Regions from separate parts of the Homo sapiens genome. Here all the other regions are linked to region 2. Evidence: promoter capture Hi-C in 16 types of primary human blood cells and fetal thymus (Javierre and others, 2016). All regions are on one chromosome and are shown on one strand. Each heading gives the region's core, a stretch centred on a gene start or on the middle of the fragment in contact. The rest is flanking DNA. Distances are from core to core; before and after follow the strand shown.

Evidence for each region. Contacts are between HindIII fragments. The CHiCAGO score rates a contact against its expected background, and 5 or more counts as called.
Region 1: a fragment that was not itself captured here is called in contact with the fragment with the promoter of GALNT16 in region 2 in 2 of 17 cell types (M1 macrophages and M0 macrophages); the score reaches 6.5 in M1 macrophages.
Region 3: a fragment that was not itself captured here is called in contact with the fragment with the promoter of GALNT16 in region 2 in 4 of 17 cell types (M0 macrophages, M1 macrophages, M2 macrophages and 1 more); the score reaches 6.2 in M0 macrophages.

What each region holds. Positions count from the first base shown.
Region 1 is chr14:69,489,410-69,492,523 of GRCh38, reverse strand. The region is part of intron 1 of PLEKHD1 (pleckstrin homology and coiled-coil domain containing D1); the gene reads right to left. Among named protein-coding and RNA genes, the nearest start is that of PLEKHD1, 6.2 kb to the right of the region's middle. The HindIII fragment of the contact is 1,350 bases long and covers 740-2,089 here.
Region 2 is chr14:69,258,419-69,261,840 of GRCh38, reverse strand. It overlaps GALNT16 (polypeptide N-acetylgalactosaminyltransferase 16), which reads right to left and starts at 1,683. Exons shown (of 15, transcript NM_001168368.2): 1 at 1,374-1,683. The coding sequence starts at 1,550. It overlaps GALNT16-AS1 (GALNT16 and EXD2 antisense RNA 1), which reads left to right and starts at 1,314. Exons shown (of 4, transcript NR_184249.1): 1 at 1,314-1,551. RefSeq lists a silencer at 578-637. The HindIII fragment of the contact is 12,811 bases long and covers 1-3,422 here.
Region 3 is chr14:69,445,279-69,448,244 of GRCh38, reverse strand. The region is part of intron 3 of SLC39A9 (solute carrier family 39 member 9); the gene reads right to left. Among named protein-coding and RNA genes, the nearest start is that of PLEKHD1, 38 kb to the left of the region's middle. The HindIII fragment of the contact is 4,573 bases long and covers 1-2,966 here.

The DNA of each region.
Region 1 (3,114 bases), core at 165-2,664, 230 kb before region 2:
ATACCAGGGAAGTACTCTGCAACATCGTAGCATACCACAGTACACTGTAACTTTACAACACACCAGGAGAGTAGACTGCAACATTGTAATGTGCCACAATATATTGCAACATTGTAAGTTTATATTAGGTATAGGAAGAGTGAAGACCGGGAGGAATCAATGGTTTAGGGGTCCAGCCAAGGGAGCTCCCCAAGATGTGACAACTAAGCAGGGCTTTGAAGAATGAATAGGAGTATCTTGGGAATTTGGAAGGAAATGGAAGTGGGAGAGATCCATTCCAGACAGAGGGAACAGCATAGGCAAAGAATAGTGTGTTCAAAGTTATAAAAATATCTCTGGTATTATTGGCAGAAAGTGCAAAGGGTGGGCAGTGGTGCAGGGGAGGTGCGGTAAGGAGTGAGTTAAGGTCAGAGAGCAGGGACAGAGCGGGGCAGAGTGAGTAGTCCTTGTGAAGACGCTGGACTTCTTCCTGCAGACAAGGGGAGCTGCCAGCAAGTTTCAAACAGGGCACTTATAAGGTCATATTGTAGTTTTAGCCATAGGGAAGTCCACAACCAGGCAAAGGGAAAATTAAATTTATTGGGAGGTACAAATCAGCAAGGCTCATCGAAATGTTAAACAAGGGCAGAGTGAGCAGGAACTGGGATGACACGATGACCAGGACTCTAGCTTGGGTCACAGAGTGGCACAGGTGCCATCCAATATGAATTAGGGAATCCAAGAAGGGTTTTCTCAAGCTTTAGCTTTGTCCCCATCTTCTGCCCCCCTCCCCAGTGCTCTGAATGCAACAAGGGCTCAACCAGAGCTTGATGGTCACCACTGCCTCATGATAAGCCCATCTGGAGCCAAGGAAAATGTTATCTAGAACCACAGGTATCTTCTATGTTGGGCAGGTCCTGTTAAACAAAGGCCTATCCAGTCTCTGTCCACTCAGGTGAGCTCCCTAATGTTTGGAGATGCGAATGCCACTGAGTTTAGGAGTAGGAGCTAGAAAGGGCTTTGCTTAACAGAGTGAAAGAAATTTGAATTTGGGGAAAATCCTGTAGGACAATAGGGAGGAGGAGTGATGGCAGAGTGCAGAGGAGAGAGGATCCTGGGAGGATCCAAGAGTCCAGAGAGAGAGTGATGTCACCATCTCTGGTGACAGCGAGGTGGGGTGCCTACCAGAGACCTAACGCTCAATTTGAAGATGTTTGCAATTCTGTAATTTAAATACCTCCTCTGCCCTCCTCTTTGCCACAGCTTCCCTTCAGGATAGGCTGCTAGACTCATAAATACCTGCTGTGTTTATGCAGCAGTGTGGAAGGCTGGAAAACTGAGGAATAAAAGCTGAGTTCCACCTCTGGTTGTGCAACAAGGACCGTGTACATTGGTCAGCAAATTAATCCATCAACCAAGAAACTAGTTTACAGCCTCTTAGAGATTAACAGAAACCTTGGTACAGATTTTAGACTTCCTTTAGATATGGGATTTGGTCTTGGGACCAAATTTATCTCACTCTCAAGAGAGCAGCAAGAGCCTAGTGGATGTGTGAGTTACACATGAGTTACATTTTCCAGGAAGGCGAACATCCAGCCTGGCTTCTCCCTCTTCCCCGGGCACAAACTTCCAGAATAGGCCCAGCAGCCAGTCTCCCTCCTCTCCGAGCCTCCTGGATACTGAGAATGGCTATGTAGGGGGTGGAACTGGAGAAGGACTGCCCTCAGAAGTGTCCTTTTCAGAACTGGCAGAAGGAAGGTAGAAATGACACAGCCCCAGTGTGTGTCCCTTGTGTCCATTCTGGATGGCCTGGTGTGCTCAGGAAATGCTCATCCTGGCCTGTGCTTCTCATCTGGCATCCAGTCTAAGATGGCAGAACAGCAGGAATTCTATCTGTGAAATGCATGAGTCATGACACATTAGAGTTCAGAGAGATTATCAAGTCCAAGGGGGCTCAAAAAACTTAGTCCCCCTGGAACAAGTATTCCAACAACAGTAAGACAACCGTAATGTGTAAAACAGGAGTCTTCAACCCCTGGGCCCTGGACCAGTACCAGTCCATGGCCTGTTAGGAACTGGGCCACACAGCAGGAGATGAGCAGGTGAAGCTTCATCTGTTTTTACAGCTTCTCCCCGTGGCTGGCATTACCGCCTGAGCTCCGCCTCCTGTCAGATCAGCGGCGGCATTAGATTCTCATAGGAGCACCAACCCTTTTGTAAATTGTGCATGGCAAGGGATCTAGGTTGCACAGTCATTATGAGAATCTAATGCCTGATGAAACCACCCCCACACCCACCCCTGTCCTTGGAAAAATTGTCTTCCATGAAACCAGTCATGGCACCTGGTGCCAAAAACGTTGGGGACTGCTGGTGTAAAACATATAACAGGGGGCTCATGCCTGTAAACCCAGCACTTTGGGAGGCCGAGGCGGGCAGATCACCTGAGGTCAGGAGTTTGAGAACAGCCTAGCCAACATGGCGAAACCCCATCTCTACTCAAAAATACAAAAATTAGCCGGGCATGGTGGTACATGCCTGTGATCCCAGCTAATCGGGAGGCTGAGGTATGAGAATTCCTTGAACCTGGGAGGCAGAGGTTGCAGTGAGCCAAGATCACGACACTGTACTCCAGCCTTGGTGACAGAAGGAGACTCTCTCTCAAACAAACAAACAAACAAACAAACAAAAAATATATATAACAGTGCAGAGGTATTGCTTGAAGTGGGTGGGGAGTCTTGGAGCTGTACCCCTGTTCCCCATTCCCTTGTGGTAGACTCAAGGCACCTCTGGGGTCATTTGTGGCACACAGTTTGACCCATCCCATTCCCACTCTATAGATGAGACACTGCTGGCCAGTGGGGTGAAATGCCACAGCCTGGATCATGCAGCTGGTTACTGGCAGAGCTGGGGCTGGAACTTGGAGCACCTGCCTCTAAGCTTAGATTCACTTTCTTTTTTTTTCCTTTTTTTTTTTTTTTTTTTTTTTGAGATGGAGTATCACTCTGTCCCTCAGGCTGGAGTGCAGTGGCTCAATCTCTGCTCATTGCAACCTCCACCTCCTAGGTTCGAGCGATTCTCCTGCCTCAACCTCCTGAGTAGCTGGGATTACAGGCACCCACCACCATGCCTGGCTAA
Region 2 (3,422 bases), core at 434-2,933:
TGGTATCTAGGACAAAACCCACAACCTCACCCCCCCGCCCCAGGTCTCCTCAGGCAAAGCCCTGAAATAATGTTTCCTTTGCAGGGGACTCGGAATCTGGGGCAGGATGGGAATATGAGGGGACACTCTCCAATGAACTTCCCGATATTCCTGGGGTTCAGATCCGCGTCTGGATGCGTTTCTCGGATTCGGCTCCACACAAGCCTCAGCCCTCCGGACCTTGCACCTCCCCCGCGGATCTCCTCACCCCTCCACCCCCAGGCCCAGATCTTTCCTTGTCGGAATCGCCACGCTTCCTCACTCCTTTACCCCCGCCCCACTCGGCTCTCCTCTTCCTGGTCCTCATCCGGCCAGGCTGCCCCGCCCTGGTAGTTCCCGAGGGTCGTCCGAGGCTCTCGTCCACCAACCGCCCCCGTCTGGAAGAATGCGCCCGCTCGAGCGCACTCTCGGCGGGTGCCAAAGCCTCCCGCCTCAACAGGTGCCCCTGCCTGGCCACGCACAGCTCTGTCACCTGGGGCTCGGACGGAGACGGCGACAGGATCGCCCCCTGCAGGGCGGCTGCGGCTCCGCACGCCCCCGCCCGGGTCCCCAGAGCGCCAAGGGCCCCCGCAGCCCCGCCGCCGCCCCCGCTGTGCCACACTGCCTTTGTTTCCCTGCCCGCTTAGATGTCGCGAGGCTGACTTCATGCAAGGGTATCGCCAAGTTCGGGCGCTGACACTGCCCACCTACCCGTGGTGGCGGACCCTAAGGTTGGGAGTGAGAGACGCGTACAGTGCGAGACCTCTCCTCAACCCAGAGAACTCCGGGGAAGCTGGGTGTCCGCGCCGAAGAAGCGGGTTCAAGTTGACCCGGCTCAGAAGGGGGTTCGAAGCCAGGCGCAGCGCCTAGAGAGCCTTCCCCTACCCACGCCCCCACCCGATGTCCTCTGCCCCCAGAAGGCTGGAGAGGGGCTGCGCACTGCCACCTACGCGCTCGGCTGCGAGTGGTTCCCACCGCCCGCTCGCCGCGCGCTGGGCCCGGCAGCCTTCCGGGGCACACGAGGCTCCCGCAGCCCCCAGACTCCCGGCCCCGGCAGCGCAGAGCCGGGAGAGCCGCCACGTTCCCAGCCGCGCGCGCACGCCGGGCCCACCAAACTTGCAGCACTTTCTCCCAGCCCCCACCCTCTGTCACCCTCCCTTAGTCGGTGCGCCCCAGCCCCGCCGCCCGGCAGAGGTTGCCATAACAACGGGCAGGAATGCTCCAACATATACAAAGCCGGCCCGGCGCAGCGGGCACTCAGCCCTGGCCGGGCCCCGCGCCCTCGGCCGCCGCGCAGGGTCTGGACGCGCGCCGCGGCTCCCTAGCCGGCCGGCCGACGCTCGGGGCGTACTCACAATGAGCGGGATGGTGCGGTCCTCGCGGAGCTGCTCCGACCTCCTGCCTGCCCTCTGCGCGCCCCGGCCGCCGGAGGATGCTGCGTGGGCTCGGTTGTCCTGCCATAAGTAGTAGAAAGTGCCCAGGATCCAGGCTACGGTCAGGATGGCGATGGCATTGGCGCGGATCTTCCTCATGGTGGGCAGACGGGCGCCCCAGGTGGGGGACTGGGCCGGCGTGCTCTCGGGGCCGGGGCGGGGGCGCTCGCAGCCCCAGCTGTTTGTTTTCGCTCGCGCCTAGCTGCTCAGTCCTGCAGAGCAGAAAAAGGAGAGAGGTGGGGGGGCGGGGGGGTGATAGGGAGAGACAGGATCGCGGAGCGATCCTCACGGTCCTAATGCCCTTCAGCCCCGAGCGCGCGCGTCCCCCGGGCGCCCATTCATTCGTGCGCAGGGCCGGCCCCGCGCTCCAGCCGCCGCCGGCTGACCCACCAGGCCACTGCGCACTGGGAGAGAAGCGCGCCGAGTGGGAAGCGGCGCGGGCCTTCCTCCCGCGCCCGGGAACCCGGCGAGACAGACGCCCGCGGCGGAATGGCGACTGGCCAAAGCCAGCCTCGGCTCCCACCGCTAGGTGACCGAACGCCCGGCAGCTGCCCCCGCGCGGCCCTGGTCGGTCCTGCCGACCCACACCCACCCCCGGACCGAGCGGCCTTGAGTCACCGACTGGAGACGCGCGACCCCCGACCTGGGCCCGCGCCGCGAGCTGCAGTTCCGGGCTGCGCTCTGGCGCGGGATTCAAGGTGTGTTCGGCGAGTCCTTGTGTAGGGGCGGCTGGGCGGGGGAGAGTCCTGAGTTTGTACTGGAATCTGCAGCTGAGATTAGCCAGACCGGGCCCGCCCAGAGGAGGGATTGGAAGCTGGTGCACTTGACATTCGAAGAGCGCGAAGGGGAAACGACGCTGCCTCACACCCAGTGCTAGGAGAGTGCGGGTACGGCCCTTCCACATTTTTCGCTGGCCTGGGGCTCCCAGATTTCACGATGCTTCCCTCTATCCCGCCTCATTGACCCCTGGACAACCCTGAAATATCATCGTCAGCATTATTTCATCGGAAAGAAGGGCAGCAAGAGAGGCCGGATGATTCTCCCAAGGCCACACAGCTAATTAGTGGGCAGAGCCCAGTCTAGAAGCCATCTCACCATCTGACACCTTTCGACAAAGTGCAAAACGCGGTGGTGAGAGACGAGGACACAGACATTAAGATTCCGCTCCAGCCCTAGAGGCACTGAGAATCAGAACGTGAACTACTCTTCACTCCAGGCAGAAAGCAAGAGGCTTGGATGAGTTTTAGGAAACCAGCACAGTGTCGGGCACAGAGCGCTCAATGAATAGATGTGTAACAACAAAGTAGGGATCCAACAGAGGAAGAAATAATTTATTGTAAGGTGGCCTTTGGGAAAGCTCTCAGAAAGGTGGATGAATCACTTAAGAGGTAAGGAAGGGGGAGGTGAGGACAGGGGAGAGACTGCAGAAATAGGCCTTGCAAAAATCCAGAGGATGGAAGAGCTTGATGTGTTCAAGAGAGAGAGCTGCCAGGCGTTGCAGGGGGCCTAGGATTTGATAGGAGTTGAGGTTGGCCAGGCTGGGTGAGTCTGAACTCAGGAGGTCCTTGAATGCCGGGGCAGAGTTGTTGAGGAGTCTGCTTCCTGCTGGCACTGCTGGACACCATGGCTACTCCGAAGACCCACATAGGGTCCAGCCTCTAAATGAAGCCATCTGGGGAATCAGGCAAACTGAAGTCACAGCATCATGCCCCCCCACAAGCATCCCATGAGCACCACCCTGACAGATAGAAGTAAAATCAGGTGGCTTTTCTCCATTTCTCCAGCACTCGAGACTGAACCGCACATATAATAGATGCTCAATACATTTCTGTTGAGGTGAAGAAACCCTAGTTGGGTTTTTGCTGAGGAAAACCCAGGGTCATTACTGCAATACGATATCCTCACTCAGAAGACTAATTACGATGACACTTAGACAAGTCCAAAAGTGACCCACGCAGGAATGGGACCTAG
Region 3 (2,966 bases), core at 215-2,714, 190 kb before region 2:
TTTTTTTGTGCTTTTTTTTTTTTTTTTTTTGAGACAGAGTCTCACTTTGTTGCCCAGGCTGGAGTGCAGTGGCGTGACCTCGGCTCACTGCAAGCTCCGCCTCCCATGTTCACGCCATTCTCCTGCCTCAGCCTCCCGAGTAGCTGGGACTACAGACGCCCGCCAACACGCCTGGCTAATTTTTTTGTATTTTTAGTAGAGACGAGGTTTCACCGTGTTAGCCAGGATGGTCTCGATCTCCTGGCCTTGTGATCCACCTGCCTCGGCCTCCCAAAGTGCTGGGATTACAAGCCTGAGTGACTGTGCCCCATCACTTTTTTTTTTTTTTTTTGGAGACAGGGCCTCCCTCTGTTGCCCAGGCTAGAATACAGTGGCACAATATTGGCTCACTGTAACCTCCCTGTCCTGGTCTCAAGCTACCCTCCCACCTCAGTCTCCTAAGTAGCTGGGAGTACAAGCGCAGGTCACCACGACCAGCTAATTTTTGTATTTTTTTGTAGAAAAAAGGTTTTGACATGTTGCCCAGGCTGGTCTCAAACTTCTGGGCTCAAGCCATCCACCCACCTTGGCCTCCCAAAGTCCTGGGATTACAGGCATGAGCCACTGCATCCAGCCCAGTTTAGTTCATAATTATCTTCAGCTGAGCTACCTGGAGTCTGCCAAGCATGGTTCAGGGTCAGCTGGAGACCGAGGCAGTTCATATACAGAATTTGGGGCTGAGTTTCTCTTCGTTCTAGGATTCTCCCTTATTTTCAGTGCTGTAACCACTGAAACTCCTGAACTCTGTCCTCTGGTTCTTCAGTCCAGAAAGACTGAGTTTTCTATCAGAGTTTTAGCTGTCCCACAGGGGGCTGACTACTGAAAGCAGTAAAAATAGGAAATGCACCCTGTTCTAAGTGTTGACTCCCTTCCAGAATTTGCTTGCTTTGGGTTGCTCTCCACTGGTTTTTTGAATTCTGTCCAGCATTTTTAGTTACCTGTAAGGAGGCTGATCTGAGAGCTTACTTGGTCATATCAAAAGCAGAATGCTTGTGACCTTAATTTTGACTATCCGATCAAGGTATCATCTGATTTCTTCATTTAGTTACTTCTTTCCCCTTGAAGCCAATAAGGAAATAAAAATTTGCCCCCTACATTTAACATTCATTGATGATGCGTGCCTGAGCCAACCTTTAAGGAGGGTTGCAAAAATGAGTATTTTTCCAACTCCAGCACTCTTTCTACATTTAATAATTGGAGCATTCTACTATAAGCAAGTGCTCTCTCTCTCTCTCTCGCTCTCTCTCTCTCTCTCTCTATATATATATATATATATCACAGATGGGCTCATGGATTCCCATTTTTTTTTCTTTTTCTTTTTTTTTTTTTTTTGAGACAGAGTTTAGTTCTTGTCTCCCAGGCTGGAGTGCAATGGCACAATCTTGGCTCACTGCAACCTCTGCCTCCTGGGTTCAAGCAATTCTCCTGTCTCAGCTTCCCCAGTAGCTGGGATTACAGGCGTGTGCCACCATACCTGGCTAATTTTTGTATTTTTAGTAGAGATGGGGTTTCACCATGTTGGCCAGGCTGGTCTTGAACTCCTGACCTCAGGTGATGCACCCGCCTAGGCCTCCCAAAGTGCTGGGATTACAGGTGTGAGCCACCGCGCCCAGCCAGATTCCCATTTTTTGAATGGTTTATGCTTTATTACTGTTCTTAATTATGTTGGTGCTCAACTTATCCCACATGTGGCCAGTGGGAACCCTTTTAAGAGGGTTCCTATATCCTATGACATGCTCCCATCTTCTTCCTTCCTTCTGTTTTTTTCAGTTCTAGATGTTCCAAGCTCACTTGTACTTACCCTGCCCCTGTCCTGGAATCAGCCCTGAGTCTTCTCTGAAAGGCCCTGGCTTGCTCATGCTAGTGGGATGTCTTTATTTCTAGGCCCCATCTTCAGACAGAGCTAGGACATATATATATATATATGTATATATAAATATATATACAAAACCAAATACATTTAGAAATCCCGAGTCCAATACTTCCAATTCCAATAAGTCCCTATAGGGGTTCTTTCTTGCCTTCCTCCACTCCATACTTGTGTGTTCCTTCTTCCACACTTAGAACCCTGACTCCACCAACATCAACATGACCCATTGACTCAATCCTATAAAACATCTAAAGCAGCTTCAGAACTGTTTTGCCCATTCCATTACAAACAACAACAACAACAACAACAACAACGAGTTCAGTATTTGTTTATGGTTTTCTCCCAACTCTACCCAAGACTAAACATATGTAGTCAAATACTACATTCATAATTTACTTGAATTAGTTTTTGTTAAATCCCTTCAGTGTGATTGTATTATTCACTTGAAATACAATTCATCTGTTTCAGTTAGCGCTCCCATCCATATTGGTTTCATTCTATTTTTTGAATATGTAGAACATTAACATGTTTCCAAAAGTCAGAATTATACCAAAAAGGCATGCTCAGGGGAATATCATGTGCTCCCAAAACCCTTTTGCCCTCTCAACTCCTCCACCTCACCCCATGCAGTTAATAAATGTCTTTTGTTTTCTAGCCAGTTCTTCTTCTGTTTCTTTTTTGTAAAGGTAAGTAGATACACTTGACCACTGCACTGAACAATGTGGATGTTGGAGTGTTGACCCCCTACACAGTCAAAAATCCACATACAACTTTTCACTCCCCAAAAACTTAACCACTAATAGCCTACTGTTGATCAGAAGTCTTAATGATAACAAAGTCGATTAACACGTATTTTATTTGTTATATGTATTAATACTGTATTTTTACAAAAAAGTAAGCTAGGTAAAAGAAAATGTTATTTAAAAATCATAAGAAAGAGAAAATATATTTACTATTAAGTGGAAGTGGATCATCATAAAGGTTTTCATCCTCATCATCTTCACATTGAGTAGGCTGAGGAGGATGAGGAGGAAGAGGAGGGGTTGGTCTTGCTGTC